Regions from separate parts of the Homo sapiens genome. Here regions 1 and 3 are each linked to region 2. Evidence: promoter capture Hi-C in human tissues and cell types (Jung and others, 2019). All regions are on one chromosome and are shown on one strand. The core of a region is centred on a gene start or on the middle of the fragment in contact, and the rest is flanking DNA. Distances in the headings are between cores, read along the strand shown. Region 1 has its middle 7.6 kb from the start of CACNA1C-IT2. Region 2 holds the start of FKBP4 (FKBP prolyl isomerase 4). Region 3 overlaps CACNA1C-IT1 (CACNA1C intronic transcript 1).

What was found. Contacts are between HindIII fragments. The study calls those that stand out against the background at their distance.
Region 1: a contact is called between a fragment that was not itself captured here and the fragment with the promoter of FKBP4 in region 2, in 1 of the 25 tissues and cell types used here (dorsolateral prefrontal cortex).
Region 3: a contact is called between a fragment that was not itself captured here and the fragment with the promoter of FKBP4 in region 2, in 1 of the 25 tissues and cell types used here (dorsolateral prefrontal cortex).

Annotation. Positions count from the first base shown.
Region 1 is chr12:2,038,784-2,042,731 of GRCh38, forward strand. It overlaps a transcript of CACNA1C not described here. Among named protein-coding and RNA genes, the nearest start is that of CACNA1C-IT2, 7.6 kb to the right of the region's middle. The HindIII fragment of the contact is 5,912 bases long and covers 1-3,948 here.
Region 2 is chr12:2,792,784-2,796,740 of GRCh38, forward strand. It overlaps FKBP4 (FKBP prolyl isomerase 4), which reads left to right and starts at 2,187. Exons shown (of 10, transcript NM_002014.4): 1 at 2,187-2,461. The coding sequence starts at 2,357. All of the region lies in intron 2 of ITFG2-AS1 (ITFG2 antisense RNA 1), which reads right to left. RefSeq lists enhancers at 1,066-1,611, 1,612-2,156, 3,650-3,957 and silencers at 2,006-2,385, 2,416-2,475, 2,826-3,235. The HindIII fragment of the contact is 5,309 bases long and covers 1-3,957 here.
Region 3 is chr12:2,021,242-2,025,270 of GRCh38, forward strand. All of the region lies in intron 2 of CACNA1C-IT1 (CACNA1C intronic transcript 1), which reads left to right. It also overlaps a transcript of CACNA1C not described here. Among named protein-coding and RNA genes, the nearest start is that of CACNA1C-IT1, 6.6 kb to the left of the region's middle. The HindIII fragment of the contact is 3,937 bases long and covers 807-4,029 here.

The DNA.
Region 1 (3,948 bases), core at 837-3,336, 750 kb before region 2:
TATTGCTTGACCTGATGTTTTTTTCCCCATGCAAGTCACTTCCTAGCAATTCACTCCAATATTACAGCAACACCCTGACTGTCCTGTGCCCAGGTATGTTGACAGGTGAAATCCCTTAACATAAATTTTGTCAAAAAAAAAAGCCTGTAAAAGACAGATGCTGGGAAGTGGAAATTGATAAATCCAGGTGTTACAAATGGGACACTGTTAAATGCAAGGATTGCAAATGTTATATAAGTAAACACAATGTCCATAGGTAGGAAATTGCAAAAGACAGGTGCTGTGAATATTGGTCTATGAGGCCAACAGACAGCCCTTTGCAAATAACATGGGCCTTTTAATAGACAAATAAGAGCTGAAACTTTCATGCAGAGTTCCAATCCCCTGGTAGAGGATCTTTTTGGCTAAGTAACTCACTAAACAATGATGAGAGGACAAGTGTAACAACCTCCCTTTAAACTAATCTCCCTGGGTAACCTGCCAGGGAGTTTTTCCAGGAACATTAGCTACCAGCTCAAGAGCAGCCTTTCATGTAGATACTTTTATGAGATGATTGATAGAAGTAGGGCAGGTCTCTTGGTTTCAAAATTTCTCTTTTACCAGCCTGTAATATGCCTGAAATTGCACCATTAGCAATATATTTTTTGGATTAATTCTCTACCACCAACAGGATAGATAGAGCAATCATTCATTTATTCATCAGATGTTTATTAAGCACTTACTGTGAGCCAAGTACTATTCTTGGTAAAGGAAATTCAAAGGTAAGTACAACATCGTTCTTGCCCTTGAGATGTTGAGAGTCTAGTTGGGAATACAGGAGGTAAACAAATAACTACAGCAATATAACTAGTGCTTTGATAGAGATAGCGGTAGGCTCTATGGGAACACAGAGGAAGAAGAACTTGACCCGGGACTCTTGAGCTGAGTCTTAAAGGATGAGTAGGAGTTTGCACACAGATGCAAAGGATGGAGGTCTGCAGTTTGGGTGTGGGAGGGGAGAAGGAATAAGGGATGATTTTGGACCATTGGGCCATAGGGGTGAGCATCCCTGTGCCTGAGCTGGGATTACAGTTCTTGGGTTCCTGTGGGGCATCATGTCAGTGTTGGCTGCCTATATATGTAGAGAGAGTGCTTCTGGAGATGGGGATGGGGGTAGGATTTATGCAAAGAGGAGATGGAGGATGGCAGAGACCAATGCATCTACTTGGATGCCATGGAAAGCCTGACGGCACTAGATTTTTCTTTCAAGTCATCACCTCTTCATTCAACTTGCTTTCCCATCCAGGTACTTTTCTACCCAGCTGTGGCACACCCATGACTTCAGCAGGGAGAGAGTTAAGACTTTGAGGATGGACAGCAAAACTCCATCTATTTTTTTTTTGTTCGTTTGTTTCTGTTTTTAACATTCATGATTTGGGTATTGTAGAAACTATCAAAGATGGCTTAAATGAGGTCTTTGTGTGATAGGAAATGTTCTTAGCTCTGTGCTTCCCAAACTCTTTTAACATTGAACTGCTCTCTGCAGAACATCCATCTTGGTGAGCCTTCACTAAATGCATAGAAGTGACAGCAAATAATGTAGCTGATCTAACTACCTCCCCTATAGGATTTACTTTCAGAGTTTTAAGGGAAATTTTCAAGCAGAAAATGGTTACATGGATAAAATTGTTGAGATTTAATTAGACTTTTATAAGAAATGTGAGAGAATTTTGTTATCAAAGTCTAAGCGGTAGGCTGGGTGATGTGGAGATGTCGAATACCTTGACTTTCACTTCTGAAGAACTGGTTTTAAGCATCCTCTTTTCAAATAGACAATTAATTCTTACATAAGAGATGGTGACCAACTAGTCTCTTTTTCCAAAGAGGAATAAAAGACAAAAAGAAAATGGTTGGAATTGTGGTTAATGATATTCAGGTTGGACCAAGAAAGATTATTGGGTGCTTCAATGGATTGTCAAAGATGACAGAAAATTCCATCTTTGTGGTAATAAGTACCCTGCTATGTCTATACTTTTCCTTGACAAGCTTTTTCATACTAACATTTCACTTTGTACTCAGAATCCATTCCTTGAAAGTTCCTTGGTTTATGGTTGAGGGAACTGATACTCAAAGAACATTAAGAGACCTGGCTAAAGTTACACAGCCAAGTGGTAATAGATACAAGCTTTAAACTCAGAGTTCTTTCTAATACCTGACACTTTTGTCTTCTAGGCTGTAAATGAAAATACAGCAGAATCAGATCTGTCCAATAAATCCTGATTGAAGGCCAGAACTGAAAGTATTTCTTCTGAGGCTGAGAAAAATTCCATCTCAAACATTGAAAGGGTAGAAATAGGCAGTGAAGTCCTAGTGCCTGCTCTGTTTGGCCTTTCTGGGTTAAAAACATACTTAAAATTGAGTGACTCTGTTGTGGAATAAAATCCAAACAATCTGGGTTGAAAAAGACTGCTTAGGGGTGTGTGGGTCACAGTGATGCTAAGGGTATTCTTTTTTTTTTTTTTTTTTTTTTTTGAGACGGAGTCTTGCTGTTTCGCCCAGGCCAGAGTGCAGTGGCGCTGTCTTGGCTCACTGCAAGCTCTGCCTCCCAGGTTCATGCCATTCTCCCGCCTCAGCCTCCCGAGTAGCTGGGACTACAGGCGCTTGCCACCGCGTCCGGCTAATTTTTTGTATTTTTAGTAGAGACGGGGTTTCACCATGTTCGCCAGGATGGTCTCGATCTCCTGACCTCGTGATCTGCCCGCCTCGGCCTCCCAAAGTGCTGGGATTACAGGCATGAGCCACTGCGCCCGGCCCGCTAAGGGTATTCTTGATATCCGCTGGGATAATGTGACCACAGGACACCTTGCTTGCTTTCTCCAAGAATCTCAAGAAGACTACAAACCCCAAGAAGGGAGGCATCTTGTTCAAGATCATGTTGGGGATAGAAGACAGAGTGAGAATGAGAAAGCAGAGATGTTCATTTGTTTTATGAACATTTACTTATCTGCCAAGGTCTGTAGCCCTGGCCTTCCCTGTGAAGAGCAGCAGCCTGAACCAACGTTCAGTGGCCGGGGCTGCCGAGCCAGGACCTTACGGGGCTGCAGCCTGTGCTGACCCAGGGCCTCCACAGTGCTTTGCTTGCAGATCCCCCCAAAAGAGTTGTGAAAAAGTCTGTGCCTCATCATGCGTTTTCAAGTTGACATCCCAAAAGTTTCATGATAATTTTAAATGGTTGTAAATGATGCAATTTCTGGTGCTTTATAAATCTTGACAGTTTAACATAAAATTGTTGCATTACTCTTTTAAAGTTTCCAATAAAATATAAACACTGCAGCTATTTGATACCTTCTATTATGTATTCAAAGATATATAAAAGCCCTGTTTTTAACAGTCAAAGATTTTTCATCATTTCTTTTTCTCCTTGGATACATATTTACATTCCATTTCCTTCTTAAAATTTTACCCTAATACGATATATTTTTATGCTGGAAAGTCTTTTACTGATCACGCTACCATATTACTCTGCAACAAAAAGAGGCTTATAAATTAAAATTTAAAATTTAAAAATTTTATAAACATAAGGCTTTGTGTTATACGCTTCTTTTGGATTGAATTTTCATCACAGATACTATTAATGTACAACTGAGCAAAACAACATATTTACATTATGAGCTTTTCGAGGTAATTCTTAATATAAAATGTACCAGAAATAATATATTTTACATGATCGAAGGGATATGTTGTCCGATTCAAGAGGCTTTCTAGACACCTGTATTTCAAATGTCTCCTTGTCTGGGCACCAGTATTTCCTAGATTTCCTTGTTTGGTGTCCTGGGGGCATTCACACCACAGGGATATGGACCTGGAAGGATGCAGGGTGAATGACAGGTGTGCTTCTCTGCTGAAGTGTAGGATAAGGATGCCCCTTTGAGAGACAGGAGAAGCGGCAGGTGGGCTCCAGGCTCTGCC
Region 2 (3,957 bases), core at 937-3,436:
TTCCCTGTCTCACAGACCTCTGTTTTCTTAGCCCTTTGTCCCCATCTCCACTGCAGCGCCTATCAGATCACACTAAAACGACCGTTATTTACCAGCTGCGGAGTTGGAGGCGAGGACTGAGCTAGATACCATACACAGATTCCCGCTTTTTTAACCATTAAATCACCCTCTTTTACAAATGTTACTATCTCTATTTTACAGACAAGAAATCGAGACATGAAGATTAACTAACCTGCCCCAATTTAAACAGCTAACATAACACATGGGCCGCCCAACGTCCCTTACTCCAAAGCACATGCTCATTCCACTAGGGTATTAGGCTATGTGTTAATGTAACGGCAGGCAATCTGAAGGGCTCCACTATGTACGTGCCGAACAGAATTAAAGGGGGGGTCCCACACTGTCCGCTTCCGATGAAGAAAAAGACGCAGAAAAGAAACCGCCACACGTGGAGAATCAGTAGGTGCAAGCCAAGGACAGTTTGCGGTAAACTGCCACCCCGGAAGCCAGCACCCACCATCCTGGTCTCCCGGAGTTTGGGTGACCCCTGGCACTGTTACTTCTGCATAAAAGTAGTGGATTTAACCCCTACAGAGGCAGCGCCCCGTATCCTCTGAAGCTGTCTCCAGCCACCTAAAGAGACGTCTTCATTATGGCTCAACTCATTTGGGCTGTAAATTGCTGAAGCGAAGGGCTTTTTCTTCTGCATCCCTTTCAAGTTCCGTCGGCAGGGACTACAATAAATCATCACATTATGACGCTGAAAGTTCATCTCTAAAAAGCTTTCAATTTAGTTTGATGAGACTAATGGCGTCCAATCGCACAGTGCCGGGCACATAACGGGAAGTCCAAAAATACAGTTATTATTGGAATAAAAATTCAGGCTGGGCGCAGTGGCTCACGCCTGTAATCCGAGAACTTTGGGAGGCCGAGGCGGGCGGATCATTTGAGACCAGATGTTCGAGACCAGCCTGGGCAACATGGCGAAACCCCGTCTCTACTAAAAATACAAAAATTAGTCGGCGTGGTGGCGGACGCCTGTAGTCCCGGCTACAGAGAGCCAAGATCGCACCACCGCACTGCAGCCTGGGCGACAGAGCAAGACCCTGTCTCAAAAAAAAAAAAAAAAGAAAAAAAAATCAGCCAAGACTTGGAAAAAGAAATTTAAAAAAGGAAAATTCATGCAGCCAGTAACTATTGGGACATCACTCACCAGGCACTATGCTAAACTGGGGTTAGGTGCTGAGCAAAACCAGGCCCCTCTCTAGATGGCTCTCTAGGTCCCACGACCATAGCTTAGGTGACACCGGCACCTGCGCGCTCCACAGCCTGTCGAAAAACACTCGGGAAGCAAACATTGAGAAGAAAATACTCCTTCTGTGGGCCTTTAGGAAAACCGAGTGACTTTTTTCGTGAGGGGAACCCATCTTTGTAAGCATTCGCGGAAACGGCAGTTTTATTACCGCCGGGAAGGGTCCCCTGAGTGTGTGCCCCATCTGAGTTCCGAGCTGGGCGGGCCATGCCTTGCCAACCCCGCTGCTCGCAGCATCTGCAGGCGCTGAGCGAGGCATCGCTGCCTGGCCGGGGCTTCTCGGATCTGGGGAAATCGAGGTCGCTTTCCCCGGCTCTCTGCAGCGGGGCAGCGCTGTCCACTCACTCCCCGCTCCCCGCGCACGCCCTTGCCCTCTTTCCCCCAAGTAGGGAAGGGTCTACGCGGGTCATAGCAGAGAGGCCACGCCGCCCGTGGTGACGGCCGGTCCCGGGGAGGGGGCGCCGCCACTGCCATCCCGCAGCCTGCGCTCCCCACACCCCGCCGCAGGCGCAGCGGACTGGTGGAGTGATGTCGGGAGATCGATCGAGAAGAATCTGGAAGAATCCGGTTAGACAGGGAAGCGGGCGGGGATGGGAGGGAGGGAGGAAGGGCCAAGGGAGGCCGCCGGGGAGATCCCGAGTCCGAGGGTCCCAGGAGAAGGGGGAGGGGGCAGGCAGCCAGAAGGAGGCAAGAACCAAAAAAAAAAAAAGAAAAAAAAATTCCGAAGCGCCCGCAGCACTGAGCCCGAACCGGCTCAGTCCCGCCGTCTCTAGAAAGTTCTGCACCCCGCCCCCTCTGTCTGCGCTCCCGCTCCTCCCAGCCCCTCCCTCGCGGCGGGGCGGGACCAATCGCTCCCCGAGCCGCTCCTGACCCACCTACCCCAGCTCTCGCGCCGCGTGCAGAGGTGCTCAAGCCTCCTCGCGGTCCGCAGTCAGTGCCGCCGCGCCCGGCCTCCCGCACGCCCCGCAGGTAGCGCCCCCGCCCGCGGCCCAGAGTGCGCTCGCGCCGGCACCAGCTCCCGGATAAACGGCGCGCCGCGCGGAGATGACAGCCGAGGAGATGAAGGCGACCGAGAGCGGGGCGCAGTCGGCGCCGCTGCCCATGGAGGGAGTGGACATCAGCCCCAAACAGGACGAAGGCGTGCTGAAGGTGAGGGGCGGCGGGGCCTGCGGAGGCGTCGGAACCCGGGGCCCCGCGGGCCGCCCTTCCGCCGCGCCCGGAGCCCGCGGCCGGGCACGGGTCGAGGCGGCCGCCTTTGCAGCCTCGCGGCCGTCCCGCCGGGGGCCGGTGGCATCGCCGTCCCGGACCGGGCTGCGTCGTTTAAGGCACCGAGGCCGGCCATGCGCTCGGCAGGGGGGCGGCCTAGGTGCGCGGGCCGAGGCCCCAGGCTCCCCAGCCGGCAGCGCCCGGGCCCGGGCAGGGGGTCGGGATTGCAGTGCCCACCCCGGCGCGCGCGGGGCGGCGGAGAGGGGCGGGGCGAGGCGACCGCCGCGGGCACCCGAGCCGCAGCCCGGGGCCAGGCCGGGCCTCCCACGCCACGCCGCCCCCGACCTCGCGGCCCCAGCGGAGCTGCCAGCCGCGGGCCGCCTCGTTGGTGGCGGTGCCAGGGCTCGCCCACCCGGGCGGTGGAACACGGGCCAGGACGGGGAGCGACTCCCCACAGTGCTTTCCTGGCCCTTCGGCCTTTGTGCGACGCAGGCGCGACAGGGTTCCGGCGCCCTCCCGGGGTCCCCTGCCGACGCCGGGACCCAGCGAGGTCCCCACTCGCCGCGCGGCGCCCCCTCCCTCGGCCCCGGGGAGGCCGGGCGCGGGGCATGCCGGGAGCTGTAGTCCCCTCCCCCCTCCGCCGCCTCCCGGAGCCAGGGCTGCGGGGTGTGGGGCGGGGAGGAGGCGCTCTGCTGTGGAGCCTGCCGCCGAGTGACCGCTCGACTACAAATAGCCTGGGGAGCTGCGGGGAGGGCATCTTGACCTGGGCCAGGACAACCTGCCTTGGGTCGGAGCAGGTTCCAGGGAGAATCAGAGATGGTGAATTCCCAGCCTGCGTCTTATGCCTTCTCCCCATCCGCTGCTGCGTCCTCATCCTGGCTTCCCACCGCTGAGCTCCGCGTGTGCGGCACCCACCTCAGGGGGCCTTTACCTGGTCCAGAAGTGCATCTGTCTTTGCACCAGATTATTGGGGACCTCAAGCGTCTGCTCCAGCGGCTCTCCTGTGGCATGTGACTTCCCCTTCTCGCTCCAGCGTCCTGCCGTTTTCTACGAGATTGTTATTCCAGGAAAGCTCATTTCCCCTTTGATCCATCATTCCTTCCCTTTTACCTTTCTACTCCTCAAAGCCCCTGTCTATTCTTCGTGGAAGCTTTCCCTTGGAGGGTAACCACACACCTACCAGGTGGCGCTAAAGAAGCCTTTACGTTTCTGGGAAATACTCCAGCCCTGGACTAACTACCAGAGGAATACTCAGCTCCCAAGTCAGAGTTTAAGGTCCCATGGAGAGCCTCCGGGTTCACCTATAACCTGGTTTCTTCCTTACCTGTTTTGAACTGTTTCTATTCTCTTCACTCATACTCCTCTCGCTCTCCTGTCTCCAAACCAGACCTTAGTCTGACGACCACTGGCATGAAGGAAGAAGGAGGAAGTGTGGCATA
Region 3 (4,029 bases), core at 1,525-4,024, 770 kb before region 2:
GAGCTTAAATAACTTGCTCAGGGTCACCTACACTATAGGCAGAGCAGTCAGAATTTGCTACAGGTAATTTAAACACAGAGATAGAGCACTATAGTCAATTTGGTGCTGCTATACCAGAAACCCGAGACTGGGTAATTTATAAAGACACTCATTTTTGCCGGGCACTATGGCTCACACCTGTAATCCCAGCACTTTGGGGGGCTGAGGTGGGTGGATCACCTGAGGTCAGGAGTTTGAGACCAGCCTGGCCAACATGGTGAAACCCCGTCTCTACTAAAAATACTAAAAATAAGCAGGGCGTAGTGGTAGGCACCTGTAATTCCAGCTACTCAGGAGGCTGAGACAGGAGAATCGCTTGAACCCGGGAGGTGGAGGTTGCAGTGAGCTGAGATCACACCATTGCACTCCAGCCTGGGCAACAAGAGAGAAACTCCATCTAAAAAAAAAAAGACATCTTTTCTCTCACAGTTCTGGAGGCTGGGAAGTCCAAGATCTAGGCGCCAGCATCTGGTGAAGGCTTTCTTACTGCTTCTCACATGGCAGAAGGCAAGAGAGAGATATGCAAGTCCTTTTCATGGTGGTGTTAATCCACTCATGAGAGTAAAGCCTTTGCAAGCTAAACACCTCTAAAAGGCTCCACCTCCCAACATTATTGCATTGGGGGTTAAGTTTCCAACACATACGTTTCGGGGGACACAGTCAGACTATCGCAAGTACAGCAGGTCTTTGAATACATTTATTGTGTTCAACACCTTTTCATTATGACATTGATGGGAAGAAAAAATGGATTCCCAGCCAGGGCCACTGTCTAGGTGGAGTTGGCAAGTTCTCCCCACATCTGTATGGGTTTTCTTAGCCTTTCCTGTTTCCTCCCACATCCCAAAGCTGTGCACTTAGGTGAACTGCTGTATTGACAGGGTCCCAGCATGAGTGAGCGTGGGTGTGTGTGCGAGTGCTCTATGTGATGGAATGGCCTCCTGTCCAGGATTGGATCCTGCTGTGCACACTGAGCTGCCAGGACAGGCTCTGGCCACCTGAGTTCAGGGGAACCGGAATACTTGGGTAAATAATTATCTCATTTCTGTAATCTTTCTTAAATGTATGTATAGCTCACATTTGTTTCAATGTTTAGTATTAGAAGTGTTTTGGTCTTTATTTAGAAATTTGGGGTTTTGTTTTGGTTTGGTAATGTTTTTGTGACCAGAAAGATGCCCTAAGGAACTTTTTTTTTTTTTTTTTGAGACAGAGTCTCACCCTCGGGGGAGTGCAGTGGCACAGTCATAACTTGGACCTCTGGGTCCAAGTGGTCCTCCTGCCTCAGCCTCCTGAGTAGCTGGGACTACAGGTGCATGTGACTACACCCAGCTAATTTTTGTATTTTTTGTAGAGAAGGGGGTCTCTCTATGTTGTCCAGTCTGGTCTCAAACTCCTGGGCTCAAATGATCCTCCCGCCTCAGCCTCCCAAAGTGTTGAGATTACAGGCATGAGCCACGTCACCCAGCCTTAACTCTTGTTCGTATCCATTAGCCTACGGTAAAATGGGTTTTGTTATACCAATTTTGTAATACCCTTATATCATCATTTCACTTAAAGTGACAATTCCTGAGAACCTATCAGTGGCATTAAGTGAAGACTTATTGTACTTAAATAAATCATTCATTCCACCTGGTATAAAAAGAGAATGCTGTGGAAGGTAGAGTCTACCCAGGTTTAGCTTTGAGAACGTGCAGCTTGTACAGTCTCCCACTGAGAAGGGCTCTGAGCCTGGTTTTATACTCTGCTGTCACAGCCTTGAAATTCTTAATAAGTTTTGAACAGGGAGCCCTGTATTTTCATTCTGCACTGAGCCCCCCAAATTATTAACTTGTTCTGGGTCTGCCATTAAAAACGAAAGAAAACAGTCAAGCTGACAAATAGAACACCTGCTTTGGTGGTGGTGCATCGAGTGTTCTGTCGTTCTGTAGGTTCATATGTTGGAGTGAACTTTAGAACCCATTCTCTATTCTGTGGCTTCTGGTCTTACTGCCCTGGACAGCCTCAGTGGTCAGGGATGGAGTGTAGGGTGTGGAGAGTGGCTTCCTTTCTTGTATATTTAATGCCATGCGTGGAGAAGGGCTGAGTTCTGGCAGGAATGCTTTTACATTTTTGGCTTTTATCACTTTCTACTCCTCAGACACTGTGTCTCCTGTCACAGGAAATTTATGGGTACATTTTAGTAGTTGACAGGAACAACGAGCCTCCAGGATTTCCCCAGGAGAAGCTTCCACCTGCCGAGTGAGAACTTCCTCCTATTGGCTAATGTGGAAGCTCTGGGCTCTCCTCATTATTTCCTCAGCCTGTCATAAATGCCAGGAATGCAGGTTTCACAAAAGCAGGCAGAGGTGCGCTGTTAGTAACTGTTCCAGGACAAGTCATTTGGGAGAGGTACTTACTGTGCTTCTTGGATGTCTGCTTCCAGTCATCTTAGTAAGTCCAGTTTGACAAAAATGTGCCTTTCTAAGTAAATGCAGCTCACAGCTTATGGTTGCCAATGAAAAATAAAAAGGACAGATGTAACATGGAAGAATGCATAGCTACCCAACACCTTCTTCAGAACACCAGGGCCTGATATTATGTTTTGCTGCTTAATAGACTTCATTCAGATTATGAATGCCTTCAAAGTGGCAGTAAGATATCTTGAAAAGAGCACTGCACCGGGAGTCAGGAAACCTGGGTTTCCACCTAGTTTAATCTTCCCAGATTAAGGGGAGGAGTTGAATTAGGCAATAGCTAAGCCCTGCACTTAGTACCCAGTGCAGACATTGTAGGAGGCTCCCTCTTTTGGGAATTGACAGATGTTGAGCTTGGGTTTCCTTCTCTTGGCTCAAAGTGAACAGGCTTTTAATCAATCCAGAGATATTTACCTAGATCTTTTCATTTACTGCACTGCAAGCCCTGTGGCAGAATGATATACAGGAAAACCTGAGGCTCATTATGAGAAAATTGCATAAGGGGCTTCTCTCCTGACTTCCACGTATGGCCCAGGAATCTTGGTTCTGACTGTCAGGCCAGCTCCACCTGGGCCAGGTATTTATAGATGACATCCTTAGATGGGGAACACAGAGCTAGCTGCTATAATAGAAACCCAAAATAACAGTGAATTTAAGGGGGGTAGACATTTATTTCTCTCTCAAGCAATCCAGGGTGTCTCCATGTCAGACTCCCAGGCCCCTTCTGTGTTGTTGCTCCTGCCCACCTAGAGTGTTGCCCTCCCTGCATGGCCCATGATGGCTTCCCACTGTGTTCACAGTCCAGGCAGCAGGATGGAAGAAGGGGAGTCAAAGCCAGGTTGCACCCATCTCTTTTCCCTCTCAGCCCAACAACCAGAACTCAGTCCACTGAAAGGTAGGAAATGCAGTCTTTGTTCTGGGCAGCCATGTGGGAGAGTGGATACTGGCAGACAAGTAGCAGGTTCTGACATGTGGCCTGTGTCTTGGGATTTGATTAAGATGAACCAAAGGGCCTGTTGAGAGCATCTGCACTCTGACCTGTCAGGAGATCTCTATACACTGTAGGCCACGAACTTATATGCAACAAACCACGAAGACCAAAGCAGGCTGTGGCACCAATCACCCATCCCTCCTCCAAGGAGCTGGTGCAGACCCTCAGCTGGTGTGGCCATGGCTGTGGTCTCTGTGCTAGTCCAGTCTGGGTCTTCTCTGACTATCCTGCACTGTTCTTGTTTGGATTGCTCTGGAGTGCCAACTTTTCTTCACAGTTCTTCTGATTAGGTACTAAACTTCATTTATGCATTTGTCACAGTGGAGGCTCCAGGCACTTATTTCTGGGGAAGGCAGGCTTAGCCTTCCCCACGGCCTCTGCAAAGTGCTGCTCTCAGTTCCCTTACCCTGCGTTCTCTGTCTCTTTGTGCAATTCTGTGGTCGTAGTGAAGGCGAGGGGGCCCCTTCTAGTGGGAAGGGTCACTTCCAACTTAGATTCAGACTGGAAAGATGACCTCCAGCTGTGCAGAGACATGTTCCATGGTTCTGC